Linked DNA regions of Homo sapiens: region 2 is linked to region 1. Evidence: promoter capture Hi-C in human tissues and cell types (Jung and others, 2019). All regions are on one chromosome and are shown on one strand. The core of a region is centred on a gene start or on the middle of the fragment in contact, and the rest is flanking DNA. Distances in the headings are between cores, read along the strand shown.

Evidence for each region. The method cuts DNA at HindIII sites, captures the fragments that hold promoters and counts their contacts. A contact is called where the count stands out against the background at its distance.
Region 2: a contact is called between a fragment that was not itself captured here and the fragment with the promoter of SRM in region 1, in 1 of the 25 tissues and cell types used here (IMR-90 fibroblasts).

The regions. Positions count from the first base shown.
Region 1 is chr1:11,057,151-11,062,272 of GRCh38, reverse strand. SRM (spermidine synthase) reads left to right here and starts at 2,255. Exons shown (of 8, transcript NM_003132.3): 1 at 2,255-2,496; 2 at 2,928-3,048; 3 at 3,381-3,473. The coding sequence starts at 2,330. RefSeq lists silencers at 1,806-2,335, 2,546-2,735. The HindIII fragment of the contact is 6,396 bases long and covers 1-4,280 here.
Region 2 is chr1:11,617,334-11,622,455 of GRCh38, reverse strand. No RefSeq gene overlaps it. Among named protein-coding and RNA genes, the nearest start is that of LINC01647, 10 kb to the right of the region's middle. The HindIII fragment of the contact is 3,706 bases long and covers 247-3,952 here.

The DNA.
Region 1 (5,122 bases), core at 1,006-3,505:
TTTGTCTTCTCTGAACTTGGAAGGTTTGTGCAATGTCTGTACACTCTGGCCGAGAGGTCTCAAGTTCTGTGCCTGCTTGAGGCTGAGGCCTCTCAGTTTCACTCCCTCTACAGGAGGACAAAGGATGTCAATGTGGCCTTTTTCATGTGAGGACCCACATGCTGGAGCAGCTTTGTCCAGCTTATAGAGGGGATGGGATGGACCTGGCCCTCCACTTTCCCCCATGCAGTGTCCTGGAATGCCAGGGCCACTGTCTATGGTCAGTCCTTCACCACCTAAAAGCAAGCTGATCCACAAGGCACCTGGCTGCATCCAGGCCTGTCATCTACGGCCACCATCCTCAGCTTCAGAGCTTATGATCTGGCTCAGGGAACACAGACAAGTACTGCCATCTACAGCCACCATCCTCAGCTTCAGAGCTTATGATCTGGCTTAGGGAACACAGACAAGTACACGGGCAGTTACAACCCAGAGGCAGAAATGTCTTGGAGGAAGTACAGGCAATGTAGGCAAACACCTTGACCCAAGTACAGGATTGAACCCAATCAAGCCTGTAGCACTGGACACACTGATTGACTCTGTCTTATCCACTACGTGGACATTTCAAGAATAATCTTCGTTCCTGGAACAAGTCCATGGAAGCTGTTGCCTAGCAATGTTTTTTATTTTTTAGAGACAGTCTTGCTATGTTGCCCAGGCTGGTCTCGAACTCCTGGGCTCAAGCGGTCCTCCTGCCTCGGCCTCCCAAAATTCTAGTATTATCAGCCTGAGCCCCTGTGCCCAGCTGCCTAGCAATTTTTTTTTTTTTTTTTTGAGACGGAGTTTCACTATCGTTGCCCAGGCTAGAGTGCAGTGGCGCAATCTCAGCTCACTGCAACCTCCAACTCCCGGGTTCAAGCGATTCTCCTGCCTCAGCCTCCCGAGTAGCTGGGACTGCAGGCGCGCACTACCATGCCCAGCTAATTTTTGTATTTTTAGTACAGACGGGGTTTCACCATGTTGGCCAGGATCGTCTTGATCTCTTGACCTCGTGATCCGCCCGCCTCCGCCTCCGCCTCCCACAGTGCTGGGATTACCGGGGTGAACCATCACGCCCAGGCACCTAGCAATTCTTTAGCGGTCTTGGTTTACCTCCCCTTTAGAAGGAGCTTAAAAGCAAGCAAGGCACATTGTTGCCTAGGCTTGAGGCTTGCTCTCACCCATAAACAACGCTGTTACTCTGCTCTGGGGACGACACAGGAAACGTTCCCCACCTCCAGGTGGAGGCTGCAAAACGTGTCAAAACCATCCCTGACATAATGTCAAGAGTAGCTTATACTAGTTTCATCTTCCTTCCTTGGCATTCGAACTGCGTGTGGAACAATTAGCATTTAATATTTGGTAATTAGCATGCTTAATGTGATTCTGAGAAGTTCTTTGACATTCTCATAAAAACAGCACATTCCCACCCACCCTTCAAAGAGCAAGACCCAGTTTGTCAAGAAAAATTGCGTGCCAGTCTTTTCTGGTGCTGAATATGTATGTTCTGGGCCTCTTCCTGGACACTGCTGGTAAATTTAGAAACTCGTTTAGAAAAGCACTTCTCTCGTATTCAACAGCCTATAGGCTCATGGCGCAGAATCTAAGGGAAAATGGCTAAATCCAGCTTGTGAATTCGCGGGCTGTGATGATTCTTTCCAAGTAAATAAAAACCCTCGGTTCGCCCCGACGAGCCACATAATCTGTTCAAATCCAACAAGGAACCAGATTTTGGACGCAAAGAAGGATACGTTCTACTCGCCCCGTGCAACAACGTAAACCACTGTAGCCACCCGCTCCCGTGTCTCCAGCCCAAAGGCTGACTCTCCAGTCCGCACGTCGCAGCGCTCTTGCCCTCCACACCAAGCCCGAGTCCCGCAGCCCCTCGAGGCCCTCGGTGCCTCCCAACCCCGAGAAGGAAGCGGGGGCCGGTGGTGCACCGCCCCGGCTGCTTGGGGCGGAGGAAGGACCCGGACCCCTTCCGCCGGCCCAGCCCGCCCCGGAACCCGACCCGGCCGCCCGGCCCCGGCCGGGCCCCACGTGGCCCCTGGAGCGGGCCGCACTACCCTGCTGCCGCCGACGGACGGCGCGCCACAGCCACTCTGCGCCGCTCTGCGAGCCGGTGGCCAATGAGCGCCAGGCGAGGCCGCTTTGCCATTGGCGAGCGCGGGCTCCGCCCCCGCCGGCAGGCCCCGCCCCGCGCCCGGGTTAGGTTGCGGCGCGGGCGGCGGGCGGAGCTGGTCCCGTTGTGCTGCGGCGCCGCGCGGCCTGCAGTCCCGGGCCCGCGCCCCGCGCCGCCCGCCCGCCCGCCATGGAGCCCGGCCCCGACGGCCCCGCCGCCTCCGGCCCCGCCGCCATCCGCGAGGGCTGGTTCCGCGAGACCTGCAGCCTGTGGCCCGGCCAGGCCCTGTCACTGCAGGTGGAGCAGCTGCTCCACCACCGGCGCTCGCGCTACCAGGACATCCTCGTCTTCCGCAGGTACCGCCGCTGCCCGCAGGCGCCTGCCCCCTAGGCTCAGCCCGGGCCGCCTGCTGCCCGCCTCACGGGCCTCTCCACGCCGGGACCCAAGCGGGCTGGACCTCGTCCTGCCCTGGCCCCCTCGCCACCCCTCACACCGCCTCCCTGGGCTGGGGCTGGGACTGCGGGCTGGCCTCTTGGGTGGGGGAGTCGGAGTCTGCGCCCCGCTCCACGTGTCAGCCCTCAGGACACGTCAGAGCCCGAGGAGACCCCGGGTCCCACCCCGGCCTCCACCCGGCGGCCCGCCTGCCGTTCCTCGCCACGTGTCACCATCGCTCCTCATCCCTGGGACCCCTAGGCGGGATGGGGAGACCCTCCTCACCCAGGGCGGCTTGGGGTACGTTTTCCCCACCCCAGAGAACCCAGGTCCCCGACTGTCACTCCGCCCGCAGTAAGACCTATGGCAACGTGCTGGTGTTGGACGGTGTCATCCAGTGCACGGAGAGAGACGAGTTCTCCTACCAGGAGATGATCGCCAACCTGCCTCTCTGCAGCCACCCCAACCCGCGAAAGGTACCCCAGTGTCCCCTGGAACAGTGCCGGACGAGGGGCGGCCCCAGGTGTGCTCCGGGCTCTTCCCAGATGCTGCCTGCATGGTTGTCAGAGAAAGTGCTAGCGAGGCCAGGGGCGTCCCGCGGAGGGGTGGGGGCCGACACTGACGCGGCCTCGGAATCCTAGGGCAGCCCTGGAAGGAACTTCCAGGAAAGGGGACACCGGCACGAAAGCGTTTCCGAGGGTAGAAAAAGATGAGGCCCGTGGGTCCGAGGGGTCAGGGGGTCTGCTTCAGGGGCCTGGGGGCTCCCAGTCCTGCCAGGGCCCCTGCCTTGACTGCCCCCTCCTCCCAGGTGCTGATCATCGGGGGCGGAGATGGAGGTGTCCTGCGGGAGGTGGTGAAGCACCCCTCCGTGGAGTCCGTGGTCCAGTGTGAGATCGACGAGGTGAGTGCCGGCGTAGAGCCAGGTTTGAGTCCTGGTTCTCCCAGCGGCCAGCTGTGCCCTGAAATGGCTGCACACCCCCGAGCAAGGCAGGTAGGGCCTGTTTCTCCATCTGGAAAACACCTGGTCGGGGAGGGTTCAGTAGGAAAACCAGATGGCAGAGGGCCTGGCAGGTGGTGAGGGCACCTGCGTGGCGAGCTCTTACTAAAACTGAGCTGATTTTTTTTTTTTTTTTTTTTTTGAGACAGAGTTTCGCTCTTGTTGCCCAGGCTGGAGTGTGATGGTGCGATCTCGGCTCACTGCAACCTCCACCTCCTGGGCTCAAGTAGTTCTTCTGCCTCAGCCTCCGGAGTAGCTGGGATTACAGACATGCGCTACCATGCCCGGCTAATTTTGTATTTTTAGTAGAGACAGGGTTTCTCCATGTTGGTCAGGCTGGTCTCGGACCTGGCGACCACAGGTGATCCGCCAGCCTCGTCCTCCCAAAGTACTGGGATTACAGGCGTGAGCCACCACGCCCAGCCGACTAAGCTGATTTTTAATCTGAGCCCCAGGCAGGGCCCCAAGACAGCTCAACTATTTGTACGTTACCCCTTACACTCAGTAGCTGCTCACTAAAATCATGCTACGTGCCAGGTGTTGCCCGGGTATGGGGACAGTGGTAGACGACAGATCAGTCCCTGCCCTCTAGGAGCTGATGTCCTAGTTAAAGGAGACATCAGATGGCCAGACGTGGTGGCTCACACCTGTAATCCCAGCACTTTGGGACGCCAAGGCGGGCAGATCACCTGAGGTCAGGAGTTCAAGAGCAGCCTGGCCAACCTGGTGAAACCCCATTTCTACTAAAAATACAAAAATTAGCCGGGCATGGTAGTGCATGTCTGTAAACCCAGCTACTAGGGAGGCTGAGGTGGAAGAATTACTTGAGCCCGGGAGGCGGAAGTTGCAATGAACCGAGATCTCGCCACTGCACTCCAGCCTGGGTGACAGAGGAAGAATCTGTCTCAAAAAAAACAAACAACAAAAATAGAGACATCAAAGGATGGTCTGATGAAGGCAAGACAGGGGCTGGGGGACAGGAGAAGGCAGGGTTCCTGTGAATGCATGGGGGGTGGTCAGGGCAGGCCTCCAGGAGGTGGCGTTTGAGCTGAGACCTCAGTGAAAAGCAGGTGGCCGTGTGCAGGGAGGGGGAGGTTCTCCTGGCCAGAGGTTGGAATTGCATCCTTCTAAAATAGGAAACAGGCCAAGCGCTGGTGGCTCACACCTGTAATCTCAGCACTCTGGGAGGCTGAGGCGGGCAGATCACAAGGTCTCTACTAAAAATAAAAAAAAAAAAAAAAAAATGGCCCAGCTTGGTGGCGTGCGCCTGTAATCCCAACTACTCGGGAGGCTGAGGCAGGAGGGTGCAGTGAGCTGAGATCGTGCCACTGCACTCCAGCCTGGGCAGCAGAGCAAGACTGTCTCGAAAAATAAATAAAATAGGAAGCGACAAGAAAGCCACTCAGATGGGGCGATTTGGTCTGGAAGGAGGGGGTAGGGATGGGAGAGAGGAGCCCAAGCCGCCGGCAGGAGCCAGCTCTCAAGGAGAAATGGAGGTACCAGAGTTCTCCCCGCTTTACACATTATAAACTGAGGTTCCCAAAAGGGGCCAG
Region 2 (5,122 bases), core at 850-3,349, 560 kb before region 1:
CCTAGTGAGTGACAATTAGGACTGTAGTAAGTGGCTGTGCTGGGCGAGCAGTGTGCAACCTGCACAGCTGTACAGACAGTCTTGGGTTATCCAGAGATAGGCAGGTCCTGGAAGTAGGAGGGAGGGGACCCTAAGGGTCCTGCCAGGGTGTGTGTATCAAAGGTTCCACAAAAATGACTGTCTGGGGTGGGTCTAAGACTCTACTGCCCACTCAGAAAAAGGAATGTCTTCCAGATGGTCGGGGTCCCCAGAGGGAGGCCTGAGCAGAGAGAATGGGTCACAGAGTGGAGAGAAAAACATGGTAAGACAGGGGTTGGGGTCAGGTGCTGCTGCCAGCTTTGCCAGGAGTCCCTGTGTGACCTTAGGTCACATTTAGCCTCTCTGGGATGCTCTTTCTTCTGTTGGGAAATAAGCAGAATACAGGCTCCACCTACCCCTGGAAGGACAGTGTAGCTGGGCCAGATGTGAAATGCAGGAGGTGGAACGAAGGGCCAGAATATCAGACAAGGAGGCTTAGGTGCAGCACAAAGCTAGGGCTCCTTGAGGCCCTGTGCCCAGGCAAAGGTGAGGGGGCTCAGACCTGGTTCTAGAGCTCAGGGACTGATGGAAGCATCAGGAATACTGGGAGGGCCAAACAGCCTTGGCCCGTGGTCAGGGAGCCCTCGGAAGTGAGAGCAGCCTCAGACATTGCAAAGAGAGACCCAGCATCTTGCCTCAGTTCCTTCATCCATAAAATGGGCACGGGAACAACCCCAGCCCTACCTCCCCGACAGGTAGGAAGGGGCATGCTGACCTTGTTGGCGGACAGGGCTTGATCACCGTTAGGCGTAGGACCAGGCAGACAGCAGCATTCCTAGCTCTCTGGGCCTCAGTATCCTCATCTGTAACTGACGGGTTAGAACCAAATGACCTCAAATAATCCTTTCAGCTTAGACATTTGCAGCGTTGGTGATTAAGCAGGGAAGGCTTCCTGGAGGAGTCAGTCTGTAGGAAAGGGAAGGGTCGAGCTTTCTGCAGATTTAGGCCCCAAATCCTGATTCCTGAAGAAGGAGATGAGAGTGAAGGAAGTATGAGGGAGGAGGCAGCATAGTGTAGAGGTTGACAACTCAGACACCCATAGGTGCAGAGCAAGTGACTTAAATGGGTGAGACAGACAGGGTGTAATATAACAGGGACTGGTGGGGGCTGTGGCAAATTGGAACAGCGCGTCCCACCTAAAGGGGCAGCCATTTCTCTGCTCCACTGATCATTGCCATGTAAGGGTGTTGATCACGGGTTGTCAGATGGATTCAGTCTTTGCAAGTGTTCCCAACTGTAAAATGGGCACAGTATTAATAATTGTCTTAGTGACTTGGTGTTAGGACTAAATGAGCTAAGAAATGCAAAGTGCCTATTAACAGAACAATGGCTGGCATATAGTGAGTGGCAATAACTTTGTACTGACAATTACTACGATTGTTGTTATTCTCTATTTGTACAAAAGACCAGATGTCTTCCTTCCCCGGCCCCCAACACACTCCTGGCAGGAAGATGGGGAGCATCTAATCATTTCAGTGCAGTTGTTTGGGGTCTCCAGGGCCATGGGCTTCCTTGGCTGCCTGTGGCCTTGTCTTGAATGGCTCCAGCAGATGAGAAATGTTTGTGATCCAGAGAGAAAGCAGACGCCGGAAATGCTGCTGCCAACAGAACGCTTTGAGTCACCTGGACTCACTTCATGGGGGTTTTATTTTCTTTTGGTAGGTTATTCTGAGCCCGGGACATGCACGTTTGCAGGAAGGATTTGTCAGGCTTCGTTGGGCTGAGAAAGTGGCCACTGAAAAGCTTGGGGAGAGGCGGAGTCACGTGGTGAGGCGTGGAACCAATGCCAGTTGAAAGGGCCCAATTGTGAGCCTTAAAGAGATTCCCAGTTGTGTCCAAGGACGAGGTGGGAGAAACTAGGAGCGGGAGTGACAGGAAAATTGTCTAGCCGGTCCTCTACAGCACATGCATTCTTAATTCAGCCAGGGCTGGCAGAAAGAGACAGTGTGCATGGGTGTGTGTGCATACAGGGTGTGCATGTGTGTGGCGGGCGCCTGTCTACCTCCTCCAAGACACACTCCTTGGTTAACCCCAGCTGGCCTGGATTATACCTTCTTCTGTCTTGACTTCCAGTTCTGGATCTTTGGAAAACGAGCTGCAAGTCTTAGGGCAAGGCATTTAACCTTGCTGTGCCTCAGTTTACCCATCTGAGGAGTAGGATGATAATTCCAGTTCTACTTGCTCCAAAGGCAATCTAATGGTAGTGTTCTAGAAGGACTGTCTTTGGGTTTGAATGCACCCTCTCTCATCTGCAGAGCCCTCTGTAATTTCAAGGCTTTTACACAATCACGTCTGATTCCAGATATGGTGAGGTCAACAGATTAGCAGACAGCTGACATTGAAAAGACAGTCTGTGGCCAGGCACAGTGGCTCACGCCTGTAATCCCAGCACTTTGGGAGGCTGAGGCGGGCAGATCACGTGAGGTCAGGAGTTCAAGAGCAGCCTAGCCAACATGGTGAAACCCCGTCCCTACTAAAAATACAAAAATTAGCTGGGCATGGTGGCGGGCTCCTGTAATCCCAGCTACTTGGGAGGCTGGGGCAGGAGAATCGCTTGAACCTGGGAGGCGGAGGTTGCAGTGAGCCGAGATTGCGCCATTGCACTCCAGCCTGGGTGACAGGAGCAAAACTCCGCCTCAAAAAAAAAAAAAAAAAAAAAAAGACAGATTATTACACTCACAGATCCCAAGAGGAGCGGGCTTGTCCAGCCATGAGGGGGCACATAGGGGCAGTCAGGAGGTAGAGGGAGGGGGAAATCGTGGGCAAGAACATTTATTGTGGTATCCATGAGAAGGAACGAATGAGGCAGAGCAAGCCGGCTTAGGGTTGGCTAGTTTGAATAATTTCAGTGCATTCTGGGCCACAAGGGCTGCCCCTAGTTGTCTGGTAGATGACCCTGGAGTGATCAGGGCAGGTGGATAGTGGTCCAAAGTGTGAGAGCCAATAAAGGAGGTAGTTGCTGGTATAGACTCTGGATTGGTTGGTTTGCATTTTCAAAGCAAATGGGCTCATGGGCAAGTTGGTTACTATCTCTAAGAATTTACCAGCTCTTAACCCTCCAGGGTCACAAAGCCCCAGATGTCAAAGTATCAGAACACAGAAAATAAAAGGCATGCTTGATAAAGGAGGGGTTGGTTGACTGGTCGAAGGTCACGCAGCTTGGGAGTGAAAGAGCCCAGGTGTTTTGACTCTCGGTCCAGGACATGCCCCTGTGATCTTCAGGTGGCTTCTCCCGAGATCCCATGCCTTCCTTATGGACAAGGGCCTCCCTAGACCGTCACAGGGGCTGAGGGCAATGAAATGTTCTGCTTCCCACTTTCTGCCCCCAAACAGGTGTGTCCCAGGACCCTAGTCAGCACTGTTTTGGTTGCAAGTGACAAAAACCCCACCTTAAACAAGCTTAAGTCAAAAAGTGAGTTTATTGGCTCACATAACTGGGTGCTCAGGGTTTCCCAGTTTCAGGAAAGGCTAGATCCAGGAGCCCAAATGCTATTGTCAGGACATCATCTGTTTTGCGTATCTGGAGTCTGCGTCCCTTCAGGTGTTCTCACAAAGCCTTTCTCCACGTGTTAGGGAAGAAGGCCAATGGTAGCCCCGAACCCCTATAACTCATTACCCAAAAGGAAGAGAGATCTTCCTTGCTGGGTTCAGGTGTCAAATCTCTGATTGATCTTCTTGGGTCAGGTGTTTTTTTTTTTTTTTTTGAAACAGAGTCTTGCTCTGTCGCCCAGGGTGGATTGCAGTGGTATGATCTTAGCTCACTGCAACCTCCGCCTCCCCGGGTTCAAGCGATTCTCCTGCCTCAGCCTCCTGAGCAGCTGGGATTACAGCCACGTGCTACCATGCCAAGCTAATTTTTGTATTTTTAGTAGAGACGGGGTTTCACCATATTGGCCAGGCTGGTCTCAAACTTCCGACCTCAGATGATCCATCTGTCTCGGCCTCCCAAAGTTCTGGGATTACAGGCGTGAGCCACCACACCCAACCCATGGTGTTCATTCTTGAGCCAATCAGTGTGATCAGGGGGATTAGAATTCTGGGCAGCCTGGCCTGATCTCACACCCACGAAGTGTGTGTGTGTGTATGTCTGTGTGTGTCTGTATGTGCATGAGTGTGTGTGTGTTCCCGTGACTATGTTTTGTAGAGCATTGTGACTAAGCCCTACCAGGACCTCATGGAATGGGGGAGAGACAGGCAGAAACAGGCAGTATCTGCCCCCAATTCAATGTTCTTCATTCCTATCCACCAATTTTCCACAAAGGTCTTGCTCTGTGCCAAGGACGACTTCCTGCCCTGAGCTGGAAGGACTTTCTTGCCATCTTCCCAAAATGTCTTAACAGAAGGGCAAGCTTCCTGGTCTAGGAGTTGGGACACTGGGGTTTGGGTCATAGCACTGTCACTGAGTCACTCTGTGACCCAGGACAAGCCCCCTAAGCCTCAGTGTTCCTGTCTGGACAATGGGTGGGCTAGACTAGAAGGTCTTTAAACTGCCTCCAAGTTTGACCCTCTGTGAGTGAAGTGCTTGCTCTGAGCAAAGAGAGGTTCCGAAGCCTGCTTGCCAGGATGATGTGGGTGGGAACAGGGCTGTTAAAATACAGATTCCTAGACCCTCCCCAGGACCAGTTGGATCACACTCTCTTCGGAGCAGGACCCTGGAAGCTATTATTTTTGAGGAGTGATTCCGTTGTAGCTGGTTCACAACCTGGTGCTTGGGAACTACGGCCTAAGAAATCTGGTCCCTTGAAAGGGACAATGAACGAACTGGCTCTTTGAGGCATCTGGGCTTGTTGGCTCTGCTAGCCTAAAGCTAACAGGGTGTGTCCTGCATACAGTTGGCAAGAGACAGTAGCTGCTGAGCCAGACTGGCCCAAGAGCCTCCTGGTGGTGACTGCCCTGTGTTCTCACGTAGCAGGTGGCCTCTATGGGGACCTGGCCCTGCCAGCTGGCAGAGCATCTCGGAGCTGAGAGCTCTTCCTGGGACACTGGCAGGAGGTCTCACTCCATGCTGTTGTTGGGGATGAGATTTGGGGAAGAGATGTGCGTG